Regions from separate parts of the Homo sapiens genome. Here region 1 is linked to region 2. The links are contacts of gene promoters, found by promoter capture Hi-C in human tissues and cell types (Jung and others, 2019). All regions are on one chromosome and are shown on one strand. Each heading gives the region's core, a stretch centred on a gene start or on the middle of the fragment in contact. The rest is flanking DNA. Distances are from core to core; before and after follow the strand shown.

Region 1 (5,859 bases), core at 851-3,350, 110 kb before region 2:
TGTGTTTGGATATAGTGAGAGATGAGATTGCAAAGGTAATTAAATCGTGTCCTGGAGATTTGCTTGATCACAGTGCTAAAGATTTGGGACTTATTGCCACAAAAAGTGGGCAATCATAGCAGTTTTGGGGAGAAGGAGTAACCATTTATTCATTCATTCTTAATAGAAAACATTTCCAAACTGCTAAGCATACATAAGCACTATAGTGGTCTCTCTAATAGTTTAAGAGGAGATGCAAGGGGTCTGAGACGGTATAATCTCAGGAAAGGAAAGAACATCTCTTGAGAATCACTGAAAAGGTGAAATCTAAGAGATCTTGTGGTTAATTAGATTTAGTTTTCTGAAAGAAAATAAGGGTCTGTTGTTAGCCCGAATGTGAAGAGTTGGGAAGCTAACATTGCCTTAACCAGAACAGGAAACCTAAAAGATAGTCAAGTTAAAACCAGAAAGCTGGAAGCAGAAAGTGTTTTTGAAGACACACGTCTTATGAAACACAGCAGTTCTGCTAGGATACCAAGTACCTCGTAAAAGAGCTTCTAATTGTGAGAGTTTGTGTTCCAGGTTTTACATAAGAAAATAAAACTTATTTAAACTGTTCTGCAATAAACACAGGGCTATTTTAATTCTAAGTTGATATGCCATAGTCCAGTTACAGTTATAAGGATCTGTCAGATAATTTCTTAGAATAGTTTTGTTTGTTGTAGGAAAGAAATACAGCCAAGAAGATCATATTTCCTTTGAAAATAACAATATTCAATGATTTAAAATTGGATTTCAAGCCAAGTGCAGTGGCTCACCCCTGTAGTCCCAGCACTTTGGGAGGCCAAGATAGGCAGATCTCATGAGCCCAGGAGTTTGAGACCAGTCTGAGAAATGTGGCAAAACACCAACTCTACTAAATATAAAAATTAGCCAGTCCTGGTGATGTGTGCCTGTAGTCTCAGCTATTTGGGGGCTTGAGGCAGGAGGATCACGTGAGCCCAGGAGGTGAAGGCTACAGTGAAGTGAGATCATGCAACTGTACTTCAGCCTGGGCAACAGAGCAAGATTCTCTTTCTAAATAAATAAATAATTTAAAATATATATATATATATATATATATATATAATAGATTTCAGAGCTTTTAAAATGTATTAATGTGCATTTTAAAAGGATTCTGAATCACTTTTCCAAAGTGCGTGCTAGAATCCAACCTCAGTATATCATGTTAGAAAGGTCTAATCTATCTTTCTAGAGCTTGATCTGTTTCTTATGCCCATAGTGCTTGGACTGAATTCTTTTCCAACCTCAAAAGTGGATCCACATGTCTCAAATATTGCTCATGGCAAGGATTTCCTGCTTGAAAACCTACTTGGCCAAAATATTACCTCTGAAAAGAGTTTTGGTTTTTTTGTGTGTATACTACATGCCAGATAAGCCCTTGGATGTTGACTTTATTCTGATTAAGGAAAGGTCCTTAGAGGTCTCAATCAAGTATCAAGAAAAACATTAAAGTTCATGGAGCTACCATCTTTTCATCTTTTTCTATATACAATTACATACCACATAACAACATTTCAGTCAAGGATGGATTAAATATATGATGGTCTTCCCATAAGATTATAATGAATCAGAAAATTTCTACCACCTGATGACATTATAGCCATCATAGGGTCATAATGTGATGCATTATTCATGTTTTCAGTGATGCTGGCTTAAACAAATCTGTGCTGCCAATTGTATAAAAGTGTGCTGTAAGGTCATAGGCCTTCATATTCATTTACCACTCACTCACTAATGCATCCCAGAGCAACTTCCCATACTGCAAACTCCATTCATGGTAACTGTCCTATAAAAGCATATATTTTCTTTAAAAAATCATTTATACTCTATTTTTACAGCACCTTTCCTATGTTTAGATATGTTCAGGTATACAAACTTACCATTATGTACAATTACCTGGAATATTCAGTACAGTAACATGCTGTACAGTTTTGTAGCCTAGGAGCAATAGGCTATACCACAGAGATTATATGTGTAGTATGGTACATCTAGGTTGGTGTAAGTACACTCTTTGAGGTTCACAGAATGACAAAATCACCTAATGATAAGTTTTTCGTAATGTATCCCCATTGTTAAGCAACACATGATTATATAGTATATTAGCGAATTCTATCAGCTATTTCATAAAACATTTCTCATATTGATCCATTTCAAATTATTCTTTCTGTTTCTACCATTGTCTCAACAAACATTTTACTTATGAAACAGCTCTCATCGCTGAGCTGTAATCTCTGTGAGCTATCATTTCTAACTTTGAACATCCCAAACACAGCTAGACATTTTATTTGAACATTTGGCTGCTCTCTTCAGTATGTTAGTCTTGCTAACCTTGAATCTACACAGTCTTGACAGGCAGACAACACTGCTGAAGACCACAGACTCAGAAGCCTCTTTTATTGGGATCGAAGCTCAACTCTGCCATGTGCTATCTGTATAGCTTTGGAAGCTCACTTAACATTTTTGTGTTTCAGCTTTCTTCTCTGTAAAATGGAGATAATAGCACCTACCTTACAAGATAGCTGTAAGTGTTAAAAGTTATGTAAAGCATTTATAAAAGTGGCTAACATCTAAAGAGGTTCTTAAAAAGTTCATGGAAAATGTGCATTATGAAAAATCTATGCATGAATTTCAATTTTTTTGCACCAAAATAAACATTGCAGACAATGTCCTAAAGAAATCAGCACTTTACAAATGGAAAACTCATTTTATGAAAAGACAAGAAGATGTTGAAAATGAATTCTATGGTGGCAGACCATCAACAATAATTTTGAAGGAAAATAAATTGTTCGCTTTTTCATGCCCTAATTGAAGAAGATTGAGGATTAACAGCAGAAACAATAGCCAGCGCTGCAGACATCTCCATTGGTTTAGCTTACACAACTCTGACTCGAAAATTTAAGTTCAACAAGTTTTCCACTTGATGAGTGCCAAAACGATTATACCCACATCAGCTGCAAATAAGAGCACAGTTTTCCATGAAAATTTTAAACAAATGAAACCAAAATCCTGAAGCATTTCTTCAAAGCATTGTAGCAGCAGATAAAACATGGCTTTACCAGTAGGATCCTGAAGACAAAGCACAGTCAAAGCAATGGCTACCATGCCAGTCAAGAGCAAAAGTCATGACAATAGCTTTTTGGGATGTTCAAGGCATTTTGCTTGTTGACTTTCTGATGAGCCAGAGAAAAAATAACATCCGCTTTTTATGAAGGTTTTGAGAAAGTTAATCAAAGTGTTACCAGAAAAACACCTGAGAAAGCTTCACCAGAGAGTCCTTCTCCACCATGACAATGCTCCTGCTCATTCGTCTCATCAAAGAAGGGCAATTTTGCAAGAGCTTTGATGGAAAAATCATTAGGCATCCATCTTTCTGTTTGGATTTGGCTCCTTCTGACTTCTTTTTGTTTCTAATCTTAAAAAAATCTATAAAGGCCACCCATTTTTCTTCAGTTAATAATGTGAAAAAAACTACATTGACATTGTTAGATTCCCAGAATTTTCAATTCTTTAGGAATGGACTAAATGGCTGGTATTATTGCTTACAAAAGCGTCTTGAATGTGATGAAAATTATGCTGAAAAATTGTTTTTATTTTTATCCTTTAATTTAATTTTCCTCATGAACATAATATATACAAGCTCCCTTGTGTATATATTATGAATTTGTTTCACTTTCCTTGTTCAATGCTAGAATTTCACACCTTGTTGGGGAGACCTAAAGAATCCATAATGGAAAAAAGTGAAGTTTCCACTACATAAGAACAAATAAAAATAAATATATAAAGCCAAAGAGACCAAATATAATGTCTAATTCAAAAAAATTAAATGTGAGAAAATATTTACTATGTGCCTTGCTTTCCTTGCCTTTGTATAAGCTATTGAACTTTCTTTCCTTCTCCAACTGACAAAAAGCTATTTGTTTTTTAAAATGCAATTTATTTTTTACTGGCATAACAGAAAAGTGGGGTAAAAGGTAAAGGAAAAGTTATAAAAATTCAAAATATTCAAGGTGAATAGTAAAATAATGGGACATCAATGATAGAAATAAAATTATCAGATGGGGAACCATTTTTGAAGAAAGACATTATTGAGATCCAACTGAAAGTTTTCAGGAAACTTAGCAATTATGTAGAAGAAATTCTACATTGTGTTAGAAAAGAACTCTGTGGCCAGGGAGGTCAAATAATTTGTTTATTGTCACATGGCTAGTTAAAGAAGAATTAGAAGAAAAACACCCTAAATACTTTTTCACGTACACTATGCTACCTTCTAACAAGTAACATACTTGAGGTCAAAATTAGACCTCCAGTTAGACAGTCCATGAGAGCACTAGATCAAGTGTCACTAGATATGATACTAGATCAAGTGTCAGGCCTGGATATTTAGAGGAACAAAGATTTATATTAAGGGCGAGAGAACATAAGTACAGAGCAGTATGCATGCTTTGATATCTTAAGAAATAAGTCATGAAAGGAAGAAAGAAAGGAAACTATAAAAAAGGAAAGAAAAATTCTGAGAGGAAGTAAGCACAGAAAGAGAACAACAAAGGTAATATGAAAGAACTTTGACACATGTACCCTAAAACTTAAAGTATAATAAAAAAAAAAAAAGTCAAAAAAAACCACTATGGAATACTATGCAGCCATAAAAAGGATGAGTTCATGTCCTTTGCAGGGACATGGATGAAGCTGGAAGCCATCATTCTCAGCAAACTAACACAGGAGCAGAAAAGCAAACACTGCATGTTCTCACTCATAAGTGGGAGTTGAACAATGAGAACACATGGACACAGGGAGGGTAACGTCAGACACTGGGGGCTGTTAGGGGGTGGGGGGTTTGGGGAGGGATAGCATGAGGAGAAATACCTAATGTAGGTGATGGGTTGATGGGTGCAGCAAACCACCATGGTACGTGTATACCTATGTAACAAACCTGCACGCTCTGCACATGTATCCCAAAACTTAAACTATAATAAAAAAAGAAAAAGAAAAGAAAGAAAAAAAAAAGAACTTTGAGTAACTTCATCCTGTTTTTGTTTTGTTTTGTTTTGTTTGACAGAGTCTTGCTCTGTTGCCCAGGCTGTAGTGCAGTGGCACGATCTTGGCTCACTGCAACCTCCGCCTCCCAGCTTCAAGCGATTCTCCTGCCTCAGCACCCCATGTAGCTGGGAATACAGGCACCCGCCACCATGAGTGGATAATTTTTGTATTTTTAGTAGATGTGGGGTTTCACCATATTGGCAAGGCAGGTCTTGAACTCCTGACCACAGGTGATCCGCCTGCCTCGACCTCCCAAAGTGCTGGGATTACAGGTGTGAGCCATAGTGCCCGGCCTGAATAACTTCATTCTGATGGTCATTTGCCTCTATTAGGGTTCTATTTAGTTTCTGTAGTATTAGGAGAAAAAAACAGAGAAAAATAATCAGTAACAGGAAAATATAGTGCCCTAGAAATTTAAGGAGTAATCAGGCAACAGGAAGTTGCCATAATTTATCTTAAATAATGCATTGTTAGTACAGGAATAATAAGGAAAGAAATCATTGTCATTCTTATTAATTTATTCAATAAATATGTTTAGGAAAATCTAATTTGTGCTAGGCACTTGCCTAGATGTAGGTTTTAGAAATCTGAGAAAGAAACATTTGGATGGGAAGTTGACCTTGAATTTGGGAACAAAATGAAAAACAAATGATAGGGTCAATAATAAAATAATTATTTGATTTTGTTTTCAAGATTAACACATTCTGCTCTGCAGCAAGCTATGTATTACTAGCACATTCCAGTCTACAAAGTGTACATATAGATTTTTAAAAATCAGCC
Region 2 (5,211 bases), core at 1,057-3,556:
AAGAGTCATGCATGTGAGAATGGGGAATGGGATGGAAACTGTGGGAAAGTCATAAATTCTCATTTTTCTGTGAAGTGGTTGGTCATGACAGCAGCTGGGAGGGAGCACAAAGAGAGTTAGAGAATCTGAAGGCTTGAGACACACTTTAAGTGGAACAAGAGAATGAGAGGCCTAAGAATACAATATGTGGTACTATGAGCTACATAGTAAATTACTTTTACTCAATAATTACGGTGCCTCAAGAAAATGAAACAAAGAAATACCTGCTCTGCAACTATTTTGAACACAACAATGATATTATGGGATATTTAAATTATATCACTGCCATATGAAGAATAAAGCAGTTGTTGAAAAATGCTCTTAAACTAAAATGATTTCACTACAACACATTTTCAAAGGAATATTAGTCTTGTCAGATAACAAAGAACAAACAGTTATCTCTCATTCTTTCATTCTCTCAATAAATATTTATTATGTACTCTCTAAAGGAAATATGCATTGTTAAGCCAATATGCTATAAATCAACCACACCTACAAATTGTTTTTAAAATTTAAATGAAATGAAGTTAACATGTTCAAAAGAAACAAAAGTCTACTCAGGTTAAAGAGTCATAGGCAAACCAACATACTCAATCTGAAGTTACCGTTTCTAGGAATAATGCAATTAAAATGGACTTCTGCTAAATACTACATGGTTGATAAACAACAGTGTCAAGTTAAATTTACTTATAATCTACAAATGTATTAGATAACTGCTGCCTTTTATTTTTGATTAGTTATATTCTAGCGAAATTATGACTAATTGATAAAGTTGTCCTTTCTTCCAAAGTAAAAAATCGCATGACAATATAGGAGATCTATCACCATGAATTAATTTATCTTCAGAAAATCTTTCACTGTTTTTCTTTTTTGCTGTCAATATTTGACAAAGTAAGCTTTGAGAAGGAAAGGAACTAAGGCATTATTTCCAAAATTATTTGATTATGAAAACTAGTTATTCAAAATTAATTTTGAAATTATTAAAGGATTTATAATTTTTAGAAGTCTGGATAGTTTCACAATCAAAAATAAAACTAATCTTAAGATTCTTATGTGAACTTCAACACAATATGAAAGTCTATTTTAAATGAACAGTTTGAGGTTCGAACACAGTAGCTCATACCTATAATCCCAGTGCTTTGGGAGGCCAAGGCGGGAGGATTACTTGAGTACAAGAGTTGGAGGCTACAGTGAGCAATAATTGTACCACTGCACTCCAGCCTGGGCAACAGAGGGAGACCCTGTCTCTAAAAAAACAATAAAAAATAGATAATTTCAATAGTCTATAAATCAGCAATAAAACCAAACTTAAAAAAAAGAACAAATTCCATTTGAGCATGGACTTTGATAATGAAAATACTCTGAATTTAATTAGACCTGAAACCAAGTGTAGTTTATTTTTTAAAATCATCTTTCCTGAAAAGGAAACTAACATGTGTGCTTTTAATATGAGAAATCTATTAACGTCTCACTTTATATTATTAGTTCTTATGTTGATGCAATTCAAGTTTATTGTTACCAGGAAATGTAGTCTATTTTTTTTCCAGAGGCTCAGTGAAATATTTGCTTTTAGCTTATTTTATAGCAGATACCTTTTACAATTATGGCTACTTCCTTTTAGAATTTAATGCCTTATTTGCAAACTTTAAAAGAAAATTAAAGTAAAAAATATGTTATTAATTAAAATATTATTTTGTACCCTATGTATTTGCTCCACAAAAAACTTTAATAAATTAAGTTAAAATTAAATAGCATGACATAAACTTAGAAATTAAGGTTTTATATTGAAATACTGTGTGACAATATTTTTACAGTAAAATAACTCCAGAAAATAATTTTTCAAATTTCTCACCCACATCCCTTCAGTTAGAGGTTTTTGATGGGCATTGATTGATGATTTTTTTCTTTTTTCCTTTTTCTTTTCTTTTCTTTTTTAAAAAACTGTTGTCATGGAAGGCAAACAACTTATTGACTTCTCTTCCATACTTCTATGTCCCACAAATCACTGTTCAGGATTAAGGGTTTGTGGAATGAACACCTTATACATGGGCAAATCACCAGATGGAAATATAAATATATGTAGCTCAGAAACAATTTAAAAAATTTAAAAGTGAGATTACATCTACTTGGGTAATTATAACAAAATTTCATTTTATTAAGTATTTTCCAAAGTTACTTAAATATTAAAATCTACCTGTAAAAAACCGTAAGCTCCTCATCCAGTCCCTGAAATGCTGCGTTCGTTTCAATTTAGAATCGAGATTGTTTGTCCTTCTAGAGCACCTGTAGGGAAAAACCGGTGTCTCTTCCTTGTGATTGGCTGTTGCCATGGATACGCTTTGTGTAGCGGCTATGGGCGCTGTCTTACAACAAAGCCAAGGAATCTCGCTGCTGAGGGGTGAGCCGGGGTCTTAAGACTGGGATTCCCGTTGAGGGAGGTGAACAGCTGTGGGAGCTCAGGCCGAGCCGGGACTCTCTCTGCCTGGCCAGACTTCCAGCAAAGGGAGAGACCGCGGGTCAGGGGATGGCTGTGCGACTCTGCGAAGCTCGAGGCTCCCTTCCACCCTGGAGATTTCGAGAACTCATTCAAAACTTAAAGAGATGTCTTGGCTATGTAGGGATCATTCGATGGTTACTCACTCACCGCTCCCCACAAACCAATTGACGTTATTTTCCTTCCTTCCTTCCCTTCTTGTCGCCCTCCTTTCCACCCTTTCTTTTTCTGTCTCTCTTTCTTTCTTTTTTTTTTGGTAATATATAATTTATATGAACCTTATAAAGTAGATTTCTCTCCCCTTTCTTTACAGGGGTTGAAGGGGGAGTTCCTTAAGCTTTTCTACTTTTGACAGCTTTAGTGAACTCCAAGTGATTCGTTATCAACTTAGAGCACTTTAATGTAGCCCATTTACAGTGAGACCCATCCATGACTGCACGTCATATACAGTAACCACTAACTGCAGGTGGCTACTGAGGACTTGAAATGCAGCTAATCCTAACTGAGATGTGCTGCAGGTGTAAAACACACAACAGATTTCTAAGAATTACTGTCCAAAGAAAGAATATAAACTCTTTGCAATGATATTAATAATTAATTTTGTTATTACACGTTGAAATATTTTGGATATATTGGGTTAAATAAAATATATTATAAAAATTAATTGCACTTCTCTTTTGTTTTTAAAAAGTTGCTAATAGAAAATTTAAACTTGCGTAAGTGCTCAAATATGTAATTGGACAGGGGTGATCTAATGAGCCAGTAGATGAACAGAGAAAGTCATGTAAAGGAAATGACTCTTACCTCCACCATACTCTCCTGCCTCTCTTTCTATATAAAGTTTAGTATACCCGTGCATTTTGCTTTGTAGGCATAAAAAAAAAATCTAGCTTTCCTTCTAATAAAGCTTTTTAAATGCACTTTGAGTTCCATTGCAGGATAATATTTTGCCCTGGTTCTGTCTGGAGTTCCATTTCACTTTGTTTTTCTTTTCTTTTCTTTCTTTTCCTTTTTTTATTTTATTTTTTATTTTTGAGTGAGTGAGTGAGGGTGGAAGTTATGGGTAGAACTGATTTTGAGATGATTGAGTAGAGTGAAAGGAGGAATTAACGAAAGGGAAAGAGGATGGAAAGAAGGAATGAAGAAAAGAACAAGAAGACAGGTGGAAAGGTCAGGCCCTTGAGTAAAGAAAGAAAGGTTTAAACTAGTGTCATGAAAAATAAAATGATAGCTGACTAGTACGTTTTCAAACCTTTTTTGGGACTAAGACCAACAGTGAAAAATAAAAAACAGAACATTAACAACAACACATATTACATTGCAACTCATGCATACATACCTACATTTATATGTATTAATAACTGAAACAAAAATTTTATAAACAATTCTGATCTTTATTATATATAGTAAAATTATATAAACATATAAATCAATAAGAGTATTAGCGTACAATTACAGTTGATCATTTTGTAGTCAAAGTTTAAAAAGAATGATTGAAGAGATAAAACAATGTTTGGTGTAACCATAATAAGGTGTGATAAAAGTTTGTTAAATTAAAACATATTTAAATAAATATGTTGGATTGGTATGACAAATTAGAGAACACATAATTTTTAGTGACATATTAGCCTCTTCATTTTTTAAAGCAGTTCTGTGCTTTATTATGAAGAATAATGGACGATGATGATGCAAAGCTCAAAGCAGAAATAGAAGCTGAATTGGATAAACTCAGCATTTCCTCCTTGGAAAAAGAAGACATTGAGAGTGATGCAAAATCAGAAACCCAGAGTGATGATAGTGATACAGTGAGTATTGCACTTTTGAGCCTTTTAACAGGAGTAGGCTTTTCAGGAGAAATATTACTTTTCTCAGGATGTTTTTATGTACTTCTCATTTTTAGCAGCATTGTTATAAACAATTTATATAAATATAAATTATATTGAATATATATAGTCACCTATACATCTTCGTAAAATTGGGATTATCATTATATATATTTATATCCTGATTTTTGTTTTTACTTGTGAACATTTTAGCATGATTAAATTACATGGGAAGAAAAATGTATATGAAATCTTTTGACATATCAAAATGGTTACTTTTGGAAATAAAACAAATTATCCTTTTATTTGTGTATATTTACCAATGTTTATATGCTTCAGAGTTTATTCATAGATTTATTCATTTATACCAATATCCTTAATCCAACTGGAATTTATTTTCAGGAATGTTATGAAATGTAGAACTAATTTGAAAATCTCCTGCACATATTGAGCTAATATTTCCAGTGTCTCTTGTTTAATAATCTAATTTTTCTCAATTGATTTATCATATGTCTTACTGATAGTTATTGTACATATGATCTATCCAAGGCTGTCTGTTCTTTTCCATTACTTTATTCATTATTTTCCTACTGTTGTATATTTGTAAATATTGAGTGGACCAAATTCTTCACATCTTTTTATCATTTGAAAATCTTAACTAAGCTTTTTTTGAAAAAGAAAATTTTTTAAAGATTTGAGAACTTTGTTATTTTATTAGGATTGCACTAAACCTACCTATTACATTTAGAAAAATTAACATTGTTACATTATTATGTCTTTTATCCAGAGCTCATTTAAATGAGGCAAAAAAATCTGAAATTCTTTATTTGAGTATGAAATCCAACAGAATAATGG

What was found. The method cuts DNA at HindIII sites, captures the fragments that hold promoters and counts their contacts. A contact is called where the count stands out against the background at its distance.
Region 1: a fragment that was not itself captured here is called in contact with the fragment with the promoter of TSPAN19 in region 2 in 2 of the 25 tissues and cell types used here (dorsolateral prefrontal cortex and hippocampus).

Annotation. Positions count from the first base shown.
Region 1 is chr12:84,928,398-84,934,256 of GRCh38, forward strand. The region is part of intron 2 of LOC102724680 (a long non-coding RNA gene); the gene reads left to right. Among named protein-coding and RNA genes, the nearest start is that of SLC6A15, 19 kb to the left of the region's middle. The HindIII fragment of the contact is 6,511 bases long and covers 1-5,356 here.
Region 2 is chr12:85,033,971-85,039,181 of GRCh38, forward strand. TSPAN19 (tetraspanin 19) reads right to left here and starts at 2,307. Exons shown (of 9, transcript NM_001100917.2): 1 at 2,234-2,307. It overlaps LRRIQ1 (leucine rich repeats and IQ motif containing 1), which reads left to right and starts at 2,381. Exons shown (of 27, transcript NM_001079910.2): 1 at 2,381-2,437; 2 at 4,183-4,338. The coding sequence starts at 4,207. The HindIII fragment of the contact is 3,053 bases long and covers 103-3,155 here.